Regions from separate parts of the Homo sapiens genome. Here region 2 is linked to region 1. The links are contacts of gene promoters, found by promoter capture Hi-C in blood cells and fetal thymus (Javierre and others, 2016). All regions are on one chromosome and are shown on one strand. The core of a region is centred on a gene start or on the middle of the fragment in contact, and the rest is flanking DNA. Distances in the headings are between cores, read along the strand shown. Region 1 holds the start of TM2D2 (TM2 domain containing 2). Region 2 holds the start of BRF2 (BRF2 general transcription factor IIIB subunit).

What was found. The method cuts DNA at HindIII sites, captures the fragments that hold promoters and counts their contacts. A CHiCAGO score of 5 or more calls a contact.
Region 2: a contact is called between the fragment with the promoter of BRF2 here and the fragment with the promoter of TM2D2 in region 1, in 2 of 17 cell types (neutrophils and non-activated CD4 T cells). The highest score is 6.4, in neutrophils.

Annotation. Positions count from the first base shown.
Region 1 is chr8:38,994,203-39,000,997 of GRCh38, reverse strand. TM2D2 (TM2 domain containing 2) reads left to right here and starts at 4,489. Exons shown (of 4, transcript NM_078473.3): 1 at 4,489-4,785; 2 at 5,593-5,680. The coding sequence starts at 4,559. It overlaps ADAM9 (ADAM metallopeptidase domain 9), which reads right to left and starts at 4,025. Exons shown (of 22, transcript NM_003816.3): 1 at 3,838-4,025. The coding sequence starts at 3,934. RefSeq lists a silencer at 3,389-3,818 and enhancers at 3,829-4,138, 4,149-4,198, 4,259-4,358, 4,519-4,708, 4,317-4,838 and 1 more. The HindIII fragment of the contact is 5,467 bases long and covers 1,507-6,795 here.
Region 2 is chr8:37,847,822-37,854,389 of GRCh38, reverse strand. It overlaps BRF2 (BRF2 general transcription factor IIIB subunit), which reads left to right and starts at 4,529. Exons shown (of 4, transcript NM_018310.4): 1 at 4,529-4,760; 2 at 5,735-5,794. The coding sequence starts at 4,607. RefSeq lists enhancers at 4,324-4,673, 4,714-4,853. The HindIII fragment of the contact is 8,285 bases long and covers 547-6,568 here.

The DNA.
Region 1 (6,795 bases), core at 3,240-5,739:
ATCTCATTAAAAGAACAATTCATCAAAGGGAACGTCCCATTCCCTTTGAGTTCTGCCCTACATTATAACATGTCTGGGGGTGATATCATTTTCTTTTCTTCCAGTAAGGTTTAGTAACACAATACTTACATTACCATAAACATAAATAAATACAAACAGAACTGCATATTTTAAAACGGACCAAGTTAATTTCTAAGGTTCCCTAGCTCACTCTTAAAAGATGTGATTTAAGGCCAGGTGTGGTGGTTCACACCTGTAATCCCAGCACTTTGGGAGGCTGATGCAGGAGGAACACTTGAGCCCAGGAGTTCGAGACCAGCCTGGGCAACAGAGCAAGATTGCCTCTCCACACACAAAAAAAGTTTTTAATTAGCCAAGCATGGTGACACACCCCTGCAGTCCCAGCTACTCAGGAGGCTTAGGCAGGAGGATTGCTTCAGCCCAGGAATTCGAGGTTACAGTGATCTATGACTGTTCCACTGCACTCCAGCCTGGGCAACAGAGCAAGACCCTGTCTCTCAGAAAGAAAAAAAAAAGATGTGACTCAAGCAGTGTCCCACATATGATCACTTAGGGAAAATAATCTGATTAAAATAACAACATGAAATGGAAAATAAACTACAATAATCTCTCAATATACAAACAACATTGTGCTACCCAACTTTAGTTGGGTCCACATTAGACCCATTCAAAGACTGTGAGAGAGGCTGGGGCGCGGTGGCTCATGCCTGTAGTCTCAGCGCTTTGGGAGGCTGAGGTGGGCGGATCACGAGGTCAGGAGGTCGAGACCATCCTGGCTAATACCGTGAAACTCCATCTCTACTAAAAATACAAAAAACTAGCCAGGCATAAGGCTGAGGCAGGAGAATTGCTTGAACTCGGGAGGTGAAGGTTGCAGTGGGCCGAGATCGTGCCACTGCACTCCAGCCTGGGCGACACAGCAAGACTCCATCTCAAAAAAAAAAAGACTGTGAGGGATTAGCTACTGAGATACAAAAGGACTGCATTCATTTATGAGGCAGTTCCATAGCGCTGACTCAAAAGGATGGCATGACTCCAAGCCTCCAGTATATGTTACATACCAAAAAGGAAAAAGAAATATGAGGCTATGTCATATGTTTGAGCTTGCGGATATTCCCAAGAAAAAGCTTCCAGTTACTTAGAGCTTGCATCTTTTGGGGGATTCCATAATAAATTCTATTATAAACCCAGATTTTTTACAAAGAGCAAATATAAATTTGGTAAGTTAAAGCTTCAAGTGCTTTTTGAAAACTGTCTTGGAAACCAGGAACTAGGTTTGTACATATTTTAATTATATATGCTTTCTTTTTTACTTAAAAGGTTGAAAACCAAATCATTCTTAAATGTAAAAGGCTACATTCTCCTATCGGCACAAACACAAACATATCAAATTCAAATATTTTGCTGGCATCTGAAAACGAGATTAGTATGGACCTAAGTTCTTACTACACAAATGATTTTACAGTGACTCACCATGAGTAAGCTTTCAAAGTCATTTTCTTTAGAATGCCAGTCTTTGTTTAAAAAAAAATTCTAAATCTGTTCCTCATAATTACTACCTTAGAAAATCAGAAGAGGTTTCATACCTGATTCCGCTTATTTTTTACAATGACACAGTTACCTTTGTCAGTTTAAAAAAAAAAAAAAAGTTTACTGAAAGTTAGCTGTTTGGAAATTATACTGCATTTCCTCATTGAGACAATGTTATAAAAGGTAGTAAAAATCCTATAAAACCTAATTAACTCCTAATGTAACTGACGTGTGCCTGGTACCTCAAATTCCTCTTTCGATCCTGGAAAATGTTTCAGTGCACGTTTTAAACACCTTATACTGCAAAAATGTGGTCAGCTGATTTTGTATGAACGTTCCCCGAGAGAAACAAGAGTTGACTCACTGCACACTATTACAAAAGCCTCTTAACCGGTGTCCCAGCCTCTAGTCTCTCCCTCCTAGATTCTATCCTCCACCGTGTTGCCCGTTTTCTTAACAGAAAATGAGATTAGGTCGCACCCCTACTTAAAACCTCCACTGCCCAAAGAACTTCCTACGGGGTGAAGTCCAAACCCCTTAGTTCAGCATAGAAGACTCTTCCCAACTGGTAACAACCTACCTTAGTTTGATCTTCCATCCCTCCCTTTTATAGTCTGCATGAAGACATATTGACATTTTTATCATTTCCTAAAAAGTCATGTTCTTTCATACGCCCCCCGCCCCACCATACTCTTGCAAAAACTTTCCTCTGCTTAGAATGTATCTACTATTCTACTTGAAAAATCACCGATGTAGCCCAGTTCAAATATTATTTTCTCTAAAAATCTTCCCCAACATCTCTCAGATGCGCTTAGCATATTTGGTCACCTTCTGCCCCTCTACAATCAACTGTGTGGTGTTTATAGGAGTTCCATAAACGGTGGCTAAACTTTGAAGGGGCATACACATGCCGAAGTGAGGAGCTGGCCAAAACCACAGTTAAAGACCATCAGGATATTCCACTCACCTAATGCAGGTCGGTAATGACTGACAATTTATATTAACATTTAAAAATACAGTCTTATTTACATTTACAAACACAAAAAAAAATCACAGATTAATAAAACTCCGGATGTATAATCGTCTTCACCTTAAACATCGGTGAGTGTTAACCATCTAGAATACCACCGGAAAAGTAGTTTTAACCAGAAGAAATTTGGCAACTTCCCATTCAAAACATTGTCAGAGTTTCAACATTTCCACACTGGGGCAAATTTACTTAATTTCAAATAAAGCAGCCAAAGATAAGAAAAACAAGTAATTAGTTTCCTGAAGGTCAACAGTCCTGCGTTGAAATCTTCTATCATCACCTTTGAATAACTTTCAATCAATGATTTAGTAAAAACTCCCATTCTCCATCATCCTCTGTCGCTGATAGAGAAAATACAGCCATGCAAACAATTATATCATACAAAATCCAAAATAAACAACTTGTTTCCAGAAAGACGCCAGCGTGCTGACAATCTGCTTCCACTATGTTTGGGCATCTCCAATACAAGTATCTTACATAGTCAAGGGCAGTTTCACAATTCAAAAACGATTTCACACAAATGATTTAATTCCTACAATAATCCTGTGAGTTCAAAAGAGCAGGGATTATCTGTCCGGATTTAACACAGTACGAACCCAATAAAAACACAGATTTTTTAAGAATGGTTTGGCTATAGAAAGGTAGCACATCGTTTACAAAATATTCTTACTACAAAAATGACCCAAGAGAAATGAGCGTCCTCCCACCCACCTTTATTCCACCATTAAATTTAGCTGTGTTGACCCAAGGATACCATGAACGTCAAAATTTCAAATTATAACCTGCAGCAAAAGTTTCATCTCTCAGTCTCTTTCCAAGCGACATTAACTCCACGAGCGAGAGCCAGCTCCCTCCCTGCAGGCGTTTGGAGGACTGAACGCCCGCGGGCGCGCCCAGCCTGCAGGGCTCCGGCCCGCCGAGGTCAGCGCCCGCCCCAGAGCGGGTTTCGGGGCGTCTGGGGGACCCGGGGTCGCGCGAGGCGGCGAGGGATGGGGGGACGCTGGGAACGGCTCCATCGAACAGGACACGGAGGAAGCGGTGCCGGGCAGAGGACCCGGGCCAAGAAGGGCTTGGGGCGCCAAACCCCGCGCCTCGGGTGCGACCCCGGTCCGCACACACCTGGAGCGGCCGCGCCCCCCGACCCCGGGTCCGATCCCCAGGCCGGGCCCCTCCACTCCCAGGCACCACAGGTTCACTCCGAGCGCCCCGTCCCTAGGAAGCAGCCGTCCCAACCGACCCGGGGCGCGGACACCCACCTGGCCGCGCCGCACCGAGGACTGGGCCCACCAGGCCAAGCAACAGCAACCACCGGACACGAAGGGTCCCCGAGGGAAAGCGCGCGCCAGACCCCATCTCGGCCGATTCCGCAGGTTCCTCTCAGCACTCGGTCGCCTCCACCTCCGCCTCTTCCATCATTTTCCAACCCTGCCGGGGCCCCAAGTCTGGCCGGGAAGCGCGCGCGCCCGACGAGCACGCGCGCCCGACGAGCACGCGCGCGGCACTGACGCAACTGAGCCCTCGGTCCGAGCTCGCTCCCGACATCGCCTAGCTGCGCTGACGTAGGGAAAAATCCAGTCCCCGGCGCGAGAATAGGATTTCTAAACCGGCGGTGGCAACCAGCACTAGTCGGCCCGCCAGTCATATCCGCCCCGCCCCGTCGGCTGCCGGGCACGCCCACCTAGGGGGGTCGACGGATCCGATTGGAGAACGCATTCGGCGCAAAAGAAGGAGGAGCATGAGACCCAGAAGAGGAATCGAGAAGCAGAAGCAGAGGGCGGAGTAGCCCCGCCCGTCTGCTCGACCTTTTCTAGTTGGTTGGCGGAGGTGCGCGGAGCGTCGAGCTGCGCGTCCATTGGCTGTTTGGCGGGGCTACGCGGGCGGGGCTACGCGGAAAGGCCTGACCACGCAGTTCTTGGGTCTGTGCTGCTGGCCTGGGGTTGTGGTTGAGGCCGGGTCTCCGCTCCTGTGCCCGGGAAGATGGTGCTAGGTGGTTGCCCGGTTAGTTACTTACTTCTGTGCGGCCAGGCGGCTTTGCTGCTGGGGAATTTACTTCTGCTGCATTGTGTGTCTCGGAGCCACTCGCAAAATGCGACCGCTGAGCCTGAGCTCACATCCGCTGGCGCCGCCCAGCCGGAGGGCCCCGGGGGTGCTGCGAGCTGGGAATATGGCGACCCCCACTCTCCGGTCATCCTCTGCTCTTACCTGTAAGCTACCAGTGGTCGAGGCGGGTGGACGTGGAGGGTGTGCCAGGAATATATGGGTGTTAAGGGAAGGCAGGGTTGGGGGGACGCTGCATTTTTTCAGACCCTGCCTCTCTGAGGTCGTTCCGGAGGCAAATATCATGAACCAGGTTTCTCACAGCCCGTGCAGAGAAAACTCTTGTGTGTCAGTGACAGAGGCTTTGAGATCCCCAAAGAGGAAAACTGGGTAGGAGTAACATCATATAGCCTCTGGAAGAAGGGCGTAAGGTTGTGCTTTCTTTGCCCTGCGCCCTTTAGCCCAAGGAGAGTATTAGTCGGTCGATTCGGTGCCAGTACTGAGTAAGGCATAAATGGAGTAAATGACTTGTCTCTGCCTACAAGGCATCTTTTAAAAAAGCAATCAATATTCTTACCGTTGCAGAATCACGCCATTTTTTAACATCTCTTTTTGATCAAACAAGAAAAGGCATTTGGGAAATGCAAAGAGGACTGAGAATACTTTGGCTTAAATTTTGCCCCCAGAATCTTGTTGTTTGCCTACTGAAGAGATGAAACCATGGCAGAAGTAGAATCCTTATAGAAACAGGACCAGAAACACCTCCCTTCTCCAACAAAAGGTTCATTTTGGTGGCTGTCCGTTTGACCTGCTGTGCTTCAGTTTAATTGGCTTGGAAAGGGGTCAGCAGGGTGAAACCGAACCCCAGAAAACTTGATGAAGAAATGTCTTTTGCCCGTTTTGATTACGTGCATGCAAACAGCGATTTGCAAAGACCGTATGATGATGATCATGATCTTACTGGTGAATTACAGACCTGATGAATTTATAGAATGTGAAGACCCAGTGGATCATGTTGGAAATGCAACTGCATCCCAGGAACTTGGTTATGGTTGTCTCAAGGTGAGTTTTTGTTTTGTCGTAAGAGCAAACCCTTCGATAACGAAATAGGAATGTCTGAATGCTATTACATAAAAGTATAAGAGGTACAAAGTTTTTTGAAGAATTTCCTCAGAAAGACCGTTACTGGAAATTTCCAGTATGGCCAGGGTCAGTGACTGAACAAGATATTTGGTTTCCTTATGAAGGAGCAATCTCTGTGCTAAAACCACCCAGGTGCAAAGACCAACCTGTCTTTGGTTCCTTTGGCCACTGACAGATTTTGAAACTAAAATGTCACCCCTGACTCTCCTTCAAGGCATGAACCTTTCCTGAAAGAGCAAAAGGAAGTCTGTGCACTTTGCAACACTGGTGATGGATTGGGCAGTATCTTTGTTACACATGCATTTGGGGCAGAGCTTTTCTTGCCAATGACATTTCTTTTCTCCAGGCAAACAGGTTCCACCATGTCCGTAGGAGACAGATAGAGTCTACCGGTATATGTCTTTGTAGGACATTAAAGCGTTCCAGCGGAAGCCATTGGTTAACAGTGGCTTCTTGGAATGGAAAAACGCTATTAAGGTTTATTAGTAATATCCCTAAAGCTGAGTGTACAGTTCCTAATCAATCTCTCAAAATAACCAATGAAGTTCATGTATCTCCTCCCCACCATGGACTCGCCATCCTATTATGCCACATAATGCAAGTCAAGATTTGGTCAGATGTTAAGAGAATGATGGGAAGGCATGTTTTGTACTAAATCAGACACAGAGGAATAAACCTGACAGTAATAAGACTAAAAGGGCAACTCTTACTGAAATCATGTATAGATAAATATTTAAGACAATGAAATTTTACTCTGTTGATAATTATTGATTAAAGTTTGAGTTAATATTGTATAGAGATCACTTTTGCCCATTTTAATTAAAAATTGAGTTTATCCTGTAAGCATTCTTATTTCCCAGTCCCTTCCCTTTGAGGAACTCGCCAATGAAAATAGTAATAAGCACTGATATAAGGTACCAGTAAAAAATGAATATCTGTGATTTCTTGGCTAGAATTCAGTTAAGCAATGGTAAGAGGCCCAGTTCTGAAATTTTTGGCTGGAATTTAAACTTAACAGGTGTCCCACAGATATC
Region 2 (6,568 bases), core at 3,280-5,779, 1.1 Mb after region 1:
GTACATAGGATAAGTATTGTATTTTCATTTAGAGAAAGGGTCTCTCAGCTGGGTGCAGTGGCTCATGCCTATAAGCCCAGCACTTTGGGAGACCGAGGTGGGTGGATCACCTGAAGTCAGAAGTTCGAGACCAGCCTGGCCAAGATGGTGAAACCCTGTCTCCACTAAAAATACAAAAATTAGCTGGGTGTGGCGGCACACACCTGTAATCCCAGCTACTCAAGAGGCTGAGGCATGAGAATTGCTCGAACCCAGGAGATGGAGGTTGCAGTGAGCCGAGATGGTACCACTGCACTCCAACCTGGGCAATAGAGCAAGACCCTGTCTCAAAAAAAAAAAAAAAAAAAAAGAAGAAGAAGAAGAAGAAAGGGCCCCTTTTACCTCAACATCATTGTGTTCAATATGGATAGGAAGGTTTAAAACAGACCATTTCTGATCTATGAGCTGTTATCATACCAGTACGATAAGTTGGCCGGAATAAACTTTGGTTTTAAAACAAAACAAAAAATCATATGAAATTGAATTTCAGCACCCATAGATGAAGCTTTATTGGATACAGCCATGACCGTTTGTTTGTTTACGTAACTGTCTATGGCTGTTTTCACATTACAACAGCTGAGTTGAGTAATTGCAACAGAGTAGCTATTGTCCCAAAAACCCAAAATATTTACTATTTGGCCTTTTATAGAAAAGGTATGATGGCCGGGTAAGTCTGATGGCTGGGTGTGGTGGCCCATGCCTGTAAACCCAGCATTTTGGGAGGCGGAGGCAGGAGGATCGCCTGAGCCCAGGAGTCTGAGACCAGCCTGGGAAACATAGTGAGATCCTGTTTCTACAAAAAAAAATTTTTTTAATTAAAAATATTTTTAAAAAATAGAAAAGAATAAGTTTGCCAACCCCTAGGCTAGGATCGCTTTGAGGGGCAGGAATATAACATTATATCATTTACTTGGAATTGCGGAGGATTGGGGCGGGCAAGGAAAATGGAGGCCATATGACTCAATCCTCTCTCAGGACTTTCCATAAGGCCAGATGAGCCTCAGCCTCCCAGCAGAGAGGCGTTCCAGGTCAGGTTGCCCTGGACTACGCAGTGCACCAGGTCTGTGCTGTGACCACCTTCCTGGAGTTACCAGATGCCTTTGTTCCTAGGAGTTCAAGAAATTGAACGTGTGAATCTTTAGCCCAGAGAGAAATGGCTGGGAGGGGCAGACTAAACTATGCAGAGGGGAAGCTGCATATGAGTGAGGAAAGGTGCTTGGCACGGGGATTTGGGAAGCCCTGGCCATGCTCTGCCCTGAGGCTATCTCATCGGGAAGTGCCCACTAAAGAGTGGTGGGAAGGAAGTCCAGTCAGAAAGGCTCCAAATCTGAGGCAACTGCCAGGCCCAGTGCCACCGTGCGAGCTGTACTCAGGGCTCGGTGAAACTGGGTCGGGGTCGCAAAGCATCATCAGCTAAGCTGAGAGGAGCCCAGGGCTGAGGCTGGAAGGCAGGCCTGGAGAGCAGCCCACTCTCAGCAGTCACTTGCTCTAGATGGAAATGGGTCTGCTTCAGAGGAACTGGGTCTATGTGGTGCTCCTTCTTCTTCATCCTTTTTTTTTTTTTGAGTCAGGGTCTCACTCTGTTACCCAGGCTGGAGTGCAGTGGTGCAATCATAGCTCATGGCAACCTTTTAACTCCTGGGCTCAGGTGATCCTCCTGCCTTAGCCTCCCAAGTAGCTGGGACTACAAGTGCACACCACTATACCCTGCTATTTGTTTTGAGAGGGGCTGCGGTCTCACTATGTTGCCCAGGACAGTCTCGAACTCCTGGCCTCAAGCTGTCTTCCCACATCAGACTCCCAAAGTGTTAGGGTTACAGTCATGAGCCACGTGCCTGGCCCATTTGGTGCTTTGGATAGGCCCACCTAGGACAGGAATTCACGGGAGTTGAACTCCTCTTTACTGAATGCCAGCCCTCACTTTAGGAGGTACTCCTGGGGACACAAGGATGAGAAAGCCAGCTTGTTCCCATAGAGACTTCCATTCAAAGAGAAAGTCAAACAACGAACTAGAATGTACACAGCCAATCGAGGGAGGAAGAGGACTGCATTCAGGTGCCAGATCCTCCTCTTCCTCAGTGCCTTCCTCTACTCTCCCCTCTACAAAGAACTCTGGCCTCAATGTCAGCATTATACATCTGGACCACAGCTGGGCTGCTGTTCAATGGCCTCCCCATGACTAGCTTTCTGCTCTGGCCAAGCCCACCCTGGGCACTCGGGGCATCTGTTAAAAAGATAATCACTGCCAGGCATGGTGGCTCATGCCTGTAATCCCAGCACTTTGGGAGGCCGAGGTGGGCAGATCACCTGAGGTCAGAAGTTTGAGACCAGCCTGGCCAACACGGTGAAATCCCATCTCTACTAAAAATACAAAAACTAGCCAGGCATGGTGGTGGGCGCGTGTGGTCCTAGCTACTTGGGAGGCTGAGGCAGAAGAATTGCTTGAACCCGGGAAGTGGAGGCTGCAGTGAGCTGAGACTGTGCCACTGCACTTCAGCCTGGGCGACAGAGTGAGACTCCTCTCAAAATAAATAAATAAATAAAATTAAAAAATAAGATAATCACTACCAGGAATGATAACTCTTAGAAGAACTGGGAGCAGTGGAGAGGGCACCAAGATGATTTCCACGTCTGTCCAGATTTCCTGGAGCAAGGCAAATACATTTCCCAAATAAATGGACTTCTTCCTGAGAAAGTGGAGAACCCCAAACTTACACATCTTAGTAGAGGGCGCCATCTTCTGGCCTGGACCCTGCCCCCTCCCAGCCTGTGTGTGCCCGAGGACCAGGCTCTCCTAGGCTCCCAGTAAGTACATCATGTGTGACTGGGAAAGACAACCAGCTTTCTCCTTCCGTGGCTGGCTGCAGGATCATAAAACTGCTTTTCCACTTTACAATCAATCAGGTTGGGTCAGGCAGGATTTCAAGGCTTCTGTCCTAGGTAGATGGGCTCTGTAAAGTCCCGCTTAAAAAAAAAGTGAAGGTAGGTTCAAGATCTGCACACAACTGGGGATGAGGGGAGTCTGATGCTCTGCTGTGTGATCATGCAAGGAACTGTTCCCAGTGCAAGTTATGTCGCTTTCAGGGACACTTTCTTCATCCAAATAAGAATGTCAACCACACTAAAACTAATGGATGTCTCTGAGTGGTGTGTGTGTGCGGGTGCGCATGTGCAAATGTATCTTAATATTTAACTGTCAGACAGCCAGAAATAAGCTCTCATCCTGTATCTCACGCTAGTGGGGAGGTCTAGAAAAGGCGGGGGGGCTTGGACTGCCGGATCCCACCCACGATTAATGTGCTGAAGCCCCCTTCTGTTATGATACTAAAGTAATTCAAATTGAAGAGAAAGGACCGTTGGGTATTATTGTGTCTCTTGGCCCTCCAATGTGAGCGATCCCCATGGGAATGGACGGGATGTCTCTGAAAAGGAGTAGTGATTCTCACACTCTGAGAAAGCAGTCTCTTAGGGAAGGGATGGTGTCTTTAGGTTTGGATATCACGTGTAAAAACTGGGTGTGGAAAAGAAGGGAGTGACACTTCTTAAAGGTATGTTTTATTTTGTTTGAGATGGAGTCTCGCTCTGCCACCCAGGCTGGAGTGCAGTGGCGCGATCTTGGCTCACTGCGCCTCCTGCGCCTCCTGGGTTCAAGCGATTCTCCTGCCTCAGCCTCCTGAGTAGCTGGGATTAGAGACGTGCACCACCACGCCCAGCTAATTTTTGTGTATTTTTAGTAGAGACGGGATTTCACCATGTTGCCCAGGCTGGTCTCAAACTCCCGAGCTCAGGTGATCCACCTGCCTCGGCCTTCCAAAGTGCTGGGATTACAGGCGTGAGCCACCACGCCCAGATAGCTCAAGGTTTTTTAAAAAACATCTGAATCTGCGTGCTTGCGCCGCTCCAGGTCTCCATCACTCCATATTCTTTCACTCCAAACTCCTTTAGACATTCCTGCCTGGCCTCCAAAAGCGTTTGGGTTTGCATCTCTGGATTTTTTTTTCAACTTCCTCATTTTACAGTTGAGAAAAACAGGAGGTAAAGAGAGGAAGGAATCTGCTTTAGGAAGCAGCTCTGGAAAGCAGAACACAGTTTCCTGCTCCCGCTCTCTCTCCACTACTCTCCCTTTAAAAAATATACTTTCTTCTATGGCCAATTAAACATTCATTACCAACCTGCGATTCCCTTAGGACTTTAAAAGGAGGGTTGTTCAGGGGTGACAACAATCTTCTGTCTGTTATACGTGTCCATGTAGGCAAAAACTTTCCCAAATTCAACCCCAGTCTAGGTCCCAAAAACTAACTACAGAGTGCAGGGAAACCAGACAGCTACAGTTCAGCCCAGGAACCTCCTCTCCTAGCTCACGTTTCTACCCGAGCCCGCGGAGGCACAGACCGGAAGTGGCGCGCAGCCTCCCAGCGGAGGGAACCGCCTATGCCTCCGTCGCGCTGGCCGGAAGACGGGGGTGCAACCCTTTGAAGTGTCCCCTCCTACTTCTTGCTGCCTCACGGTTGCTGTTGCAGACCCAGGAGTCTCTGAAGGCTTCCGCGGCTTTGGGGCCGGTTGTGAGATGCCAGGCAGAGGCCGCTGCCCGGACTGCGGCTCCACGGAGCTGGTGGAAGACTCGCACTATTCGCAGAGCCAGCTGGTGTGCTCCGACTGCGGCTGCGTGGTCACCGAGGGGGTCCTTACCACTACCTTCAGCGACGAGGGCAATCTCCGAGGTACTTGTGGCCCTGGGGACAGCCTGGGGCGGTGGAGGGATTAACATCAGATTCCTTTTGCCTCCCCGCTCCCCCCATACTCCTAACTGTAACGCACACACTTAATTTGAGAGAAAATGACCTAAAGTGAGCGAGGGAGCTGAAGGAGATGGGGGCTGCCATTCATCTGTGTTTTCCCAGCACTTAGTATCGGGCATAGATGGTGCGTGTAATAAATATTGAATAAGTGAGACAGAAACAAAAGTTCCACTCATCTTGCCATGTCTGGTCATTGTGGAAGGATTGCCGATACGATTATAGCAGGTATTATTACCCTGAAATAGTTTTAAGCACAAACTGGCAAAACATCACTTTTCTTTGCTTTCCAAGTTTCTGACCAGTGCAGCCCTCAAAATCTGCAGCCATTGTCTGGGTGGGGTGGCTTACGCCTGTAATCCCAGTGCTTTGGGAGGCAGAGCCGAGAGGATTGCTTGAGCCCAGGATCTCGAGACCAGCCTTGGTAACGTAACGAGACAAGTGCCTAAAAAAATTTTTTTTTAATTAGCCAGGTATGGTGGCATACACCTGTAATCCCAGCTACCCAGGAATCTGAGGTAGGAGGATTGCTTGAGCCTGGAAGTTGAAGGCTGCCGTGAGCTGTGATCGCACCACTGTGCTCCAGCCTGGACTATAGAGGGAAACTCCTTAAACAAACAACAACAAAATCTGCTGCTAGGAAAATTGCCTGTATGGAATGTACTGGAAGGATGACTGGAAATTTGGAACACTTGGAGCTGCTTTAATGCAGTCCTAACCTTTCCCAGTCTCTGTGTATTCGGAACCTCTTGTAGACATAGAAAACCAGATGGGGCCTTTAACTGTGCAGCAGCAGATGCTCAATGATTTGAATTTTGCGTCCTGGTTTTGTGTGGTGGGAGGGCAGGGGTCTGATGAATAAAGGCTAAGCACACTATTTGTTGTTTATTATCTTACAGAGGTAACATATTCCCGAAGCACAGGGGAAAACGAACAAGTTAGTCGCAGCCAGCAACGAGGTGAGAATTGACCTTTTACAACACAGTGGCTTTAAAGAAAACTATCCTAGGCCAGGTGCTGTGGCTCACGCCTGTAATCCCAGCACTTTGGGAGGCCTAGGCAGGTGGATCACCTGAGGTCAGGAGTTCAAGACCAGCCTGGCAAACATAGCGAAACCCCGTCTCTACTAAAAATACAAAAATTAGCTGGGCATGGTGGCATGTACCTGTAGTCCCAGCTACTTGGCAGGCTGAGGCAGGAGAATCGCTTGAACCTGGGAGGTGGAGGTTGCAGTGAGCTGAGATCGCGCCACTGCACTCCAGCCTGGGTGACAGAGTGAGACTCCATCTCAAAAAAATAATAATGAGCCGGGCGCGGTGGCTCATGCCTGTAATCCCAGCACTTTGGGAGGCCGAGGCGGGCGGATCACGAGGTCAGGAGATTGAGACCATCCTGGTTAACACGATGAAACCCCATCTCTACTAAAAATACAAAAAAATTAGCCGGGCGTGATGGTGGGTGCCTGTAGTCCCAGCTACTCGGGAGGCTGAGGCAGGAGAATGGCGTGAACCCGGGAGGCGGAGCTTGCAGTGAGCCGAGATCGCACCACAGCACTCCGGCCTGGGTGACAGAGCGAGACTCTGTCTCAAAAAATAATAATAATAATAATAATAATAATAATAATAAAAGAAAACTATCCTGGTGGCCTAGCCCAGCTTTTCACTTTTCCTATTTTCAGCATTGCTGGTGTGAGGTAGAGTAGAAGAGAATGGTAATTAGGAATTTAAAATGGG